Linked DNA regions of Homo sapiens: region 1 is linked to region 2. The links are contacts of gene promoters, found by promoter capture Hi-C in blood cells and fetal thymus (Javierre and others, 2016). All regions are on one chromosome and are shown on one strand. Each heading gives the region's core, a stretch centred on a gene start or on the middle of the fragment in contact. The rest is flanking DNA. Distances are from core to core; before and after follow the strand shown. Region 1 has its middle 170 kb from the start of FAM3C. Region 2 holds the start of CPED1 (cadherin like and PC-esterase domain containing 1).

Region 1 (5,397 bases), core at 2,585-5,084, 570 kb before region 2:
CCCTAATCCCGCCCGAAGCAGCCCTGAGAAACATCGCCCATTATCTCTCCATACCACCCCCAAAAATTTTCACTGTCCCAACACTTTACCACTATTTCATTTTATTTTTCTTATTAATATAAGAAGACAGGAATGTCAGGCCTCTGAGCCCAAGCTAAGCCATCATATCCCCTGTGACCTGCATGTACACATCCAGACGGCCAGTTCCTGCCTTAACTGATGACATTCCACCACAAAAGAAATGAAAATGGCCTGTTCCTGCCTTAACTGATGACATTGTCTTGTGAAATTCCTTCTCCTGGCTCATCCTGGCTCAAAAGCTCCCCCACTGAGTACCTTGTGACCCCCATTCCTGCCCGCCAGAGAAAAACCCCCTTTTTCCTTTACCTACCCAAATCCTATAAAACAGCCCCACCCCATCTCCCTTCACTGACTCTCTTTTCGTTCTCAGCCTGCCTGTACCCAGGTGATTAAAAGCTTTTATTGCTCACACAAAGCCTGTTTGGTGGTCTCTTCACATGGACACGCATGAAAATATGGATCTGAGGAAACATGGGTCTAAGGTGTACCAGCTTATCAGCATTGTTTTTGGTAAATGGTGAGATTGATGGTTTGCACCTGTTGTTATTGAGATCCCTAAAGGCTCTGTTACTGATTAGATTGCAAAAAGATGCCTATGTGACCAGTATGATATAAAAAGGTCAGCCCAGACTCCTGGTTCCTGGATGTTAGATGTACATATCAGTCATTCCTGACTGGAGAGAAAAAGTGCATTCTAGCACAGGCCTGCAGAGGGAGGACAATTGGAACCAGCTTCTCCACTTTTTGGAAAGCAGCCTTTGGCTGGGATATATAGATTACTTTAATGCCATTGCTCTATTGTATCTCTTCCCAGCAATAAACCATAAATCCACAAGCTTTGACGTTTTTGGACATATTTTGGACCTATATTAGCCAAATACCTTCTCTCTGCTACTATTTGTGTCATTGGGCTTCACAAGATCATCCCAGCTAATAAAATACATAAATATCTAGCAAACACACACGAACGATACCTGAAAATTTATAGATGTTATCAATGTGTAGAAATAGATCATCACTGGTTATTTTAAAATGCTATTGTGCTTAAAACATCATCTTATTCATGACACATATTTTGAATTTAGTAATGTGTGAAAGTCATTATAAGGATTCCATGGAAAAAGTAGCCCACCATATCAAATAGAGTAAGGCATGATATTCAAAAGTCAACATCAGAAGAGTTAAAGACCTAACTGGGAAAGTAAAGACTGAAATGAAATTAAGGAAAATGTAAGAGATTATCTTTATAAGCCTACGAGTACAGAAGGGCTTCTGAAACAGGAGGCCCAAAATCAAAACAATAACGTGAAAAGGTGGCATACTCAATTACATCAAAATTAAGGTTGAACAAGATTAGTAGAAAATATAGAGCCTAAACAAGTCAAAAGATTTTATTTCTATATGAATAGAAACTCAGGTAGATCATTTAGAAAAAGAAGGAAAACCAGAGAGACTGAAACCCACTGGTAATCAGATTAATGAAAACTGAAATGATGACATACCATTTTGTATTTCTCAGATTGGCAAAACATAGACTACAAAAACACCAAATGTTGAGAACTATGTGGATAAATGAGGAGCCACTGCATTGCTAAGGGTCACATACTCTGGCAACAATTTCAGGAATGGTAACAATTTCATGAATAGTAACCTGATAGTACTCAGAGAATTTATGATCCAAAAAGATCATTCCTGCATTTATATTGCAGAGAAACTCACATGTATGTCCATAAGGGTAGTGAGCAAGGATAATCATCATTTTGCTTGCATAGTCAAGAGTTTGAGGCAACAGTGGCGTCTATCTACAGGGCATCTTATAATAAAATGTGGTAGATACACACAATGGAATACTATGTAGCAACTAGAAACAATGAATGAGATATACATATACCAACATAAATAGATCTTAAAACACATGGAGTTAAAATATGCAAAAAATAGAATTCAGTCTATGGTACAAAGCCATCGATGCAAATAAAAAAGCAAACATGCACTTCAAGAACATACAAGTATATGATATATCAGACATGTGGAGAAGGGAAGTGGGACAGGGGATGAAGAGATGGGGAAAAGTAAAACAAAAAGAGCCAAGTAAGGACATATATTGGAAGTATGAGATAAACTGAGTAGTATACATTTAACTGAATTCCTTGCACATGAGGTTCAAAAACTCCATGTGGCTCTGAATTCTGGCAGAGTGCCAGGCTTTTGACAGACTCCTCATATGCATTTGAAAGCTTTATTTAATAGGAAACAATTATACGGTACTGTTTCAAAATTTAATCATTGGGCTCACTAATCAACACATACAAAGAGAATTAAGGTGTTGCCATGTTTTAATTGTATTTGAATTAAAACAAAAAACTTAACCCAGAATTTTATGAATTATTTTAGTACTAAATGTTAACATATATCATTAAAATACTAGAATTAGAGCTACCAGATAATTTATCACCCAAACTAGGACACTTTTGTGAATAAAAGTAGACACAAAAATAATGAAAATTGTATACTATTTGAGATACTTATTTACTGATTTATCATTTGATGCTATTTGTAGACATAAGTAATGATTCTATTCACATATCATTTTCAGGGACTTCTGCTTCTAGATTTGATAATTAATAGCAAACACATTTGATCTTTCACTTTAAGCAATTTTAAAATGGACAAAATATACAAAGCAGATTTCATACATTGGACAAAAGGCAGCTCAGGAAAGGGATCCCCTGAGAGAATAGAGCAAATGAAGTAAGCTTAGGATTGTTCTAGCTTACTCCCAAAAAAAGTGTCCAGGGAAGGGGGACCCAAACCACAGGCTGGCAGACTTGCTTAGTGGAAAGACAGAGTTGCCAATTCGGAGAGGCCAAGAAAATAGAATTTGCAGTGCAGAATACCAGAGAAGAGAAAGCTGTATGGAGCAGAGAGAGCTTTACAAAGAGAGAGCCCAGAAAAGTAGGAAGAGTTCCCCTCAAGTCTTCAGGTAAGTACCAATCAATACATGCACGTGAGAAAACTACCCAAAACTGGAGAGAAAAATATCAGAAATAATGAAACGCAACAATCCTCATAGCTCATGTAGAGTCTGAAATAGTGTTTTCCCAGTAGTCAGAGTGTAAACCTCTCTTAATTCATATGACAAAAAATGAGTCCTGGACTAAAGGCTGCTCAGGCTTTGCCTAGCAAATTTTAAAAGCAGGCTTCAAAAGGATTGTACTGTTTTCAAGTAACAAACTGAGCCTCAGAACAAGATTCAATAATATGAACAGGAGTGTATAAGTATCCAGCATCCAGCACGTTAAAATTCACATTGCATGGCATCCAAACAAAACTGACAGACATGAAAGGGAAATGTGACCCATATGGGGAAAATTAAATCAATAGAAACAGATCCAAAAATGAAACAAATATAGAATTAGTAGACAAGGTCATCAAGACCGTTATTACAACTAGATTCCATATGTTCAAGAAAATAAAGGAAATCATGAGAACATTAAAGAAGAGCATAAAGATGTAAAAAAAAAAAAGACCTGAATTAAACTTCTAGAGATGAAAATGTAATATCTGAGTGAAAAAATATATACTTGGATGGAATTAACAGCAGATCGAATACTGCTGATCAAAAATAGAAGCTGCATCCAAAAAAATTGCCATAAGTCAAGTTACTCCAAAATGAAGTAGAATTTCAAAATTTGTACACCATCTGGGGCCTTTTCATTGATTTTGTTCAGTTTATCCCTTGCTTTTATTTTATAGGACTAAATTTCCATGTCTTTCTGTTTGCAGGATTTGACTATAATTGCAATTATCTAAAAATGTCAAAGATTGTTGACACTTTGACATTAAAAATGTCAAGAGATTGTTGGTACTCCATTAAATAATTCATTTAAACATTTCCAACTGATTTTGAATAAAACGCAAAAAAAAGAGGACTCACTTTTCAAAGTTCAATACCACTATAAAATACTAAAGGAAATTTATTAGGTTAATAGGCAGCAAAGAAAAAAGCATGTGCCACCATAGTAACTTATTTTTTAACTTGTCACAAAAAAGTTTATACTTCAGTTACTCAGTTGTGTATATGTAAAAACACATAGATAAATTTCAGCAACCATAGGTTTTGATTAATACAATACAGATGTTTATTTAGATATAATGACAAGTTGAATGTGCATGACAATTCCAAGTATATTTGCTCCATAAATAATTTAATTATAGCATTGTGTTTACTATGGCCCTGTTTTCCATAAACATTTTATTCACGTTGTCTCATCAAAACATAAAACTTTTTCTTCAATATTGAACATTTAATTTAATGTATAGTACCAATCATAATAAGGATGTTCCCCAACTTACAGTGGTTGGACTTAATGCTTTTCAACTTTACAACAATGTGAAATCAATATGCATTTAGTAGAAATTGTACTTTTAGTGCTCATACAACTGTTCTATTTTTCACTTTCAGTATGGTATTCAACAAATTACATAAGATATTAAGCACTTTATTATAAAATAGACTTTGTGTGAGATGAATTTGCCCAACTGTAGGCTAATGGAAAGTTCCTGAGCGCATTTAAGGTAGACTAGGTTAAGCTATGATGTTTGGTAGGTTGGTTATATTAAATGCATTTTCAGCTTCTGATATTTTCAATTCATGATGAGCTTATGGAGAGGTGATCCCATAGTAAGACAAGGAGCATCTGTAGTGTCAGATATTTCACTTTCAGTTAAATTAAATTTCAGAAGCTTTTCGCTGGTTCCATGAGTTGAATTTTAAAAATTGAACCATTGGAATTAATGTATCTGACTTTCTATGTGAAGCATCTGGTGTCACTGCCAAAAGTTAGACTTTCTTTAACTGTTTGTGAAATTCTAACCAAACCAACACGTTAATAACTATTGCTTCACTTTTTGTACATGTAAAAAATGGAAATCAGAAAAGAGTGAAGTTAATTCAAAGAAGACTTGTTTAATTTAATGAAATATTATGTACAACCTTCCTAACATGACTACCTACTACCAACTTCTGAAGGGAATGCTCAAGCATCTTAAGAATATTTTTATTTTTGGATGTTCACACGGTCCGTGATGTTACTACAGCTTTCATAGTTGGATGGTAAACATCCTCAAAGCTTGCACAATCTTATTATGTGCATCATTGCATTTATTAGGAAATGAATGTTTAGGTGCTTAATTTCCCATTAAATATAGACTTTGGATTTTTGTTTGTTTTTTTGTTTTGTTTTAAGCTCATTGATGTCAAAAAAGTTTGTTGCAAAAGAAAAAAACAAAAGACTAACCAAAAAATGTGATCCC
Region 2 (4,668 bases), core at 523-3,022:
ATAGTATAAATATAGAATAATCTGTATTTCCCTGATCCTATAAACAATAAAATACATTGTATCAATTCTTTTGAAGAAACCTATTATCCTATTATTTTAATGCTTTCGAAGTAAATATATTGCTTTAGAAATGTGGTCACCAATTAAGAATCAATCTAGCTAGTTACAAAATGAAACTTTGGAGAATCTTTGAGTCTGGAATGGTCTGGGCACTCATACTGACTGCCTTGAGAAAAGAGACACTCAAGGTTTATCAAAGTTTTTGAAACTTTGATTTATGTTTTTGAATTGTAAATCCTCAGATCTCTTAGAATACTGATATTTTAGAAAGAATCCACATCATTTTATGCCTCCTCCAAACTGTCTACTTCATTCCACTGAAATGAAGTGAAATCCTAAGAGATAAAGTAATGCCAGAACTTTCTGGAAGTAACTATAAGAAGTTGAAGCTTATGTAACGTGTTTCCCAGTCATCAGGTCACTCTCTAGGCTGTTTACACTCTGGATCCCTTTCAGACCTCATGGAAGTTAATTTTAGTTTTATAGAAAGGACAGAGAAGCAGATTGCTGTCTTTGCAGAAACTGTCTCCGTTAAGCTTATGAGAGTCTTACCTTTCTGGTTTCCTGGGCATTACCAGAGAGAAGGAAGCACTGTTTGTCCTGAGAGAATCCTTTCTTGCATCTGCTTGCCTGGGTTTCAGTGGATGTGTGTGGGACAGCCCCAGGGGCAGCGGCTGTGAGCTTCCTCGACCCTCGGAGGGTCAGAGTCTGGTAGAAGAGACAGATTGCCACCACTAAGCCCACCAAGAAGGGTCGGGGGCAAAATCGCCGACGACAAGGGAACACTGGGCGACAGACCATGACCAGTTCAGCTTCACTTGGCCCCTGTCCACGTTGCGGGAAAAGTCATAGCAGCTATTTTTTGTCAGCATGAAAAATACTAATCTGTCTTCTTTTTCCCCAACTCCAATCAAGTTTGCTTCATCCCTGCTTAAGAATTTTCCAAAAGGTTGTGCCAAAGAATCATAGGTCCCGAAAGTCTGAGGCTTTTAATAAGAGCTCTTCCATGGATGACAGTCAAAAGTGGATGACCTGAGTTTAAAAAAAGACATCAAATAATAATAGTTGTAACGAATAACCTGAGTGTACCCCAGGCTGCCAAACTGTTGCTTCCAGCAATGCCTTATTCTCACATCTTTCAACTCACAGTAAAGGAGTCCGACTCTGCCTCAGCTTTGCAGGAAGAGAGAAAACAATACCAAAGTATATCTGGAGTCTGAAAACAGCATTGAAGAACGCAAAAGATTAAAACCCAAAGTGCCTGTTGCACAGCTGAACTCAGGCCAGGTTGCCTTAGCAGTTCCTCAATTTTCCTCCGGTTTTAAAGCAGTCTTGCTTTCAGCCTTTTGTATGCTTCCCTTCATTTAGTTTTAAATTCCCACTGTCCTGTAAGTATTCACGGCTTTTAACATAAAAAGGGCATACGCAATTTGAATGGACATGGTTACTGTCAGGGTTTTTGCTTGAATTTGTTTCATTCCGTCTCAAGTTCAAAGTTCTATGTACTTACTCAGTTTTCATCCTTTTAGCCAGGAAAAAAAAAGTTTCCATGATTTCCTAATGGATTGCTGATGAAAACCACTCGGAAGGAAACACCCAGTCGTATGACTCCAATTCATCTCACACACACACAGAGAGAGACACACACACACACGCACACAGACACATAAACACACGCGCGCGCGCCCGCTGCACGCCCGGCGGGAGCAGAGGACCTCGGCATCGCAGCCACCCGGGGCCGGGCAGAGCGGGGCGGAGCTAAGGCCGGGTTCCTCTGGCCCTGGGGGCTGCTGGAGCAGCGCTGTCAGCCCTGTGTCCGAAACCGTGGGCTTCCCCACTTTGGAAACAGCAGCTAGCATTTCCCCAAATGAGGCTGCCCACCCAGAGCTGCAGAATTTAGAAACGTATCTGATGTCTGATCCTCTGTGCAACTTCTTTTTCCTAATACAGAATTGGAAAAACAAATAGCCTTAGCCAATTGGTGACAAAGGTCGAGAATGAGACTAAAGTGAACTCCATGAGTGAATTGGGATATTCTTCACTCCAGGGAATTGTGGTTACTCTTCTGAGGATAAGAGGGTCACAAGTACTGTCTGGACCTCAGACAGCAAGCACCAGAATAACTCAGTCGTCTCTCTGTGTCTTAGTATGGAACTCAGATCACAGATGTTCTTATTACTCCTTTCCTGGACTAATTAATTGGGTCTTTCAATGATCTGATGCTTCATGGCCTGACATTTTGCTCCTAAAATGAGTCGATTATAGCAGGTGTTGGGGGTAACTTTTGCCCAGTAGATAAAGGTACACAGTGGGCTTTGTCCAGAATCAGCTCAGTCTAATTCTGTGCAGACCTTCGGGTGGACGCTGCTAATAGTGCAATTCTGCAAACCCCCTTCCACTTTTGCTGAGGCTGTCAAGGCGAAAGGAAATCAGTCCTTGCTTTGTGAACTCTGGATACCCAGGGCTGTCTTAGCGCATAGCAGGCATTATTTAAAGGCTCTGGACCTGAAGAGGTTTTCAAACTTGTTTCTAAGCCAAACTCTTGTGGGTTGAGGTTCTCCGTGAGGCCACACCCCTAGAGTGAGCCTCACCCAGAGGCACGCTGCTGTCAGCCCCTTGTATTTTGAGAGACGGAGCGCCCCCTAGGGGTGCCCAGCTAGCACAGATTCAGAGAAATGGGCATCTAGAGTTCCTTGCTTGTGAGAAAGAAACCCTTTTAACATCCTATAGAACAAATTAATTAACACATTACAGAAGAAATATTCACACGGAAGCTGGATTTATCCCAAGCCCTTGCATGTATCGCCTCCAGTGGCTTTAATATTATTTTATGTATAGGTTCAGAGTCCTTAATCTTATGACAAATGGGATAGAGAAAAATAAAGTGATGCTTCACTTTTAGAAGCCAAAAGAGTTTTAAGAGAAAATGGCTGAACAGTGGTGTTGTAGGACATATCGTTTTGGTGGATGCAATGTGATTTGAGAGATAATAAGAATTGTGAGATTTCTAAATTGGAATCCAGGGTGTGACAATGCTGTTACTGAGTGATAAGGAATAGGCAGACAGTTCTATTAAGTTCTGTTAAGGCAAGAAGTCTGAAAAACAGAGTTTGGGGAATCTAAAGAGTCATTCTTATGCTTTATTAAATTGTTGAGAACAAGGTACAGAAGAAAGTAAATCAGATGCTAAAATAAAATTGCCATTCGGTTGGGAGAAATGAAAGACAACAGTATTGAAAATTTTAAGATAATATAGCTAGACTTCAAATAATGGGAATTGGGAAGAAGGTGGAAAATTAGTATCCCAGAAATGATTCTAGTAGATTAAAGAACCCCATTTCCCATTTTAACCACTGAGTCCAAGGGAGTGGAAGAAAGCAGTAAGGAAATATTTGCAAGAGAGAGAAAAGAGGTAGCTTGAGAAGGTGCAAACAAGAGGTGGAAAGGAGATATAGCAGGAATTATCACCAAATAGACTAAGGCGATACACAAGCATCTGATTTTAGAGTAAACCCAATCTGGATATGATTCATGGCACTGCCTTTTATCAGCTGTTCTTAAACAAGTGGTTTGACCAAAGTCTCAGCTTTCCTCATTCGTGATATAAGGATACTAATGTTTCCTTTGAAGTGTTGTTGGTACAACTAGTTGAGATAATATATGGAAAGCAACTAAGCATTCTGTATTTGCTGGATAAATGAATGCTGAATGCATGTATGTTAAGGTTTGAATCCTGAGGCTGTGCTCCTTCCTCACTGAGTTTATGGGAGATGTGGTGTCAGACACGTAAAAAGATAATTATCAAATAATGAGTCCCGTGGAACATCTAGACACCAAAAGCAAACATGAGCTCTTAGTTCTCTTCCTTTCCCTCTTTGAGATAGAAGTGCACCCACCAGCAGATGCTGGTTTGGGAGGACAAGGGCAAGGGTGGCATGAAAGCAGCATGTGGAGACTCTACCTGAGAGGTATTTACACCTGAGCAGTAGGTTACACACATTCGAATGGAATGACAGAGCTTGAAGGAGTCAGAAGAGTGAATGAGGCCGGTTGCGATGTCGCTCACCTGTAATCCCAGCACTTTGGGAGGCCAAGGCGGGAGGATCACTTGAGCCCAGGAGTCTCAGACCAGCCTGGACAACATGGCGAAACTCCATCTCTGCAAAAAATTAGCCAAGCCTGTTGGTGTGTGCCTGTGGTCCTAGCTACTCAAGAGGCTGAGGTAGGAGGATCACCTGAGCCCAGGGAGGTCAAGGCTACAGTGAGCCATGATTGTGCCACTGTACTCTGGCCTGGACAACAGAGTGAGACCATGTCTCAAAAACAACAAAACAAAACAAACAAACAAACAAAAAAATAGGGAATAATAAAGACAGAGAACAAGTTAATTTAGGGATGGGGTTAGAGGGTAAATATTCACGAGAAATACGAGGCTGTAGATTCTGGCAGTATTTCAGACTAAATGCTTTTGTGCATATAATTTCATAAAGTACACTTTACACTAAATAATTTCAGTATTCAAGGGCCTGTATTTAAGCAGATTAATCTGGGACAATAGATTAACAGGCCTTTCAGGATCCTATCATTTCGAGCTTGGACAAAACAGAA

The links. Contacts are between HindIII fragments. The CHiCAGO score rates a contact against its expected background, and 5 or more counts as called.
Region 1: a contact is called between a fragment that was not itself captured here and the fragment with the promoter of CPED1 in region 2, in 1 of 17 cell types (total B cells). The highest score is 7.9, in total B cells.

The regions. Positions count from the first base shown.
Region 1 is chr7:121,558,784-121,564,180 of GRCh38, reverse strand. No RefSeq gene overlaps it. Among named protein-coding and RNA genes, the nearest start is that of FAM3C, 170 kb to the right of the region's middle. The HindIII fragment of the contact is 1,990 bases long and covers 2,840-4,829 here.
Region 2 is chr7:120,985,815-120,990,482 of GRCh38, reverse strand. It overlaps CPED1 (cadherin like and PC-esterase domain containing 1), which reads right to left and starts at 1,772. Exons shown (of 23, transcript NM_024913.5): 1 at 1,571-1,772; 2 at 613-1,092. The coding sequence starts at 861. RefSeq lists an enhancer at 2,517-2,596. The HindIII fragment of the contact is 5,089 bases long and covers 599-4,668 here.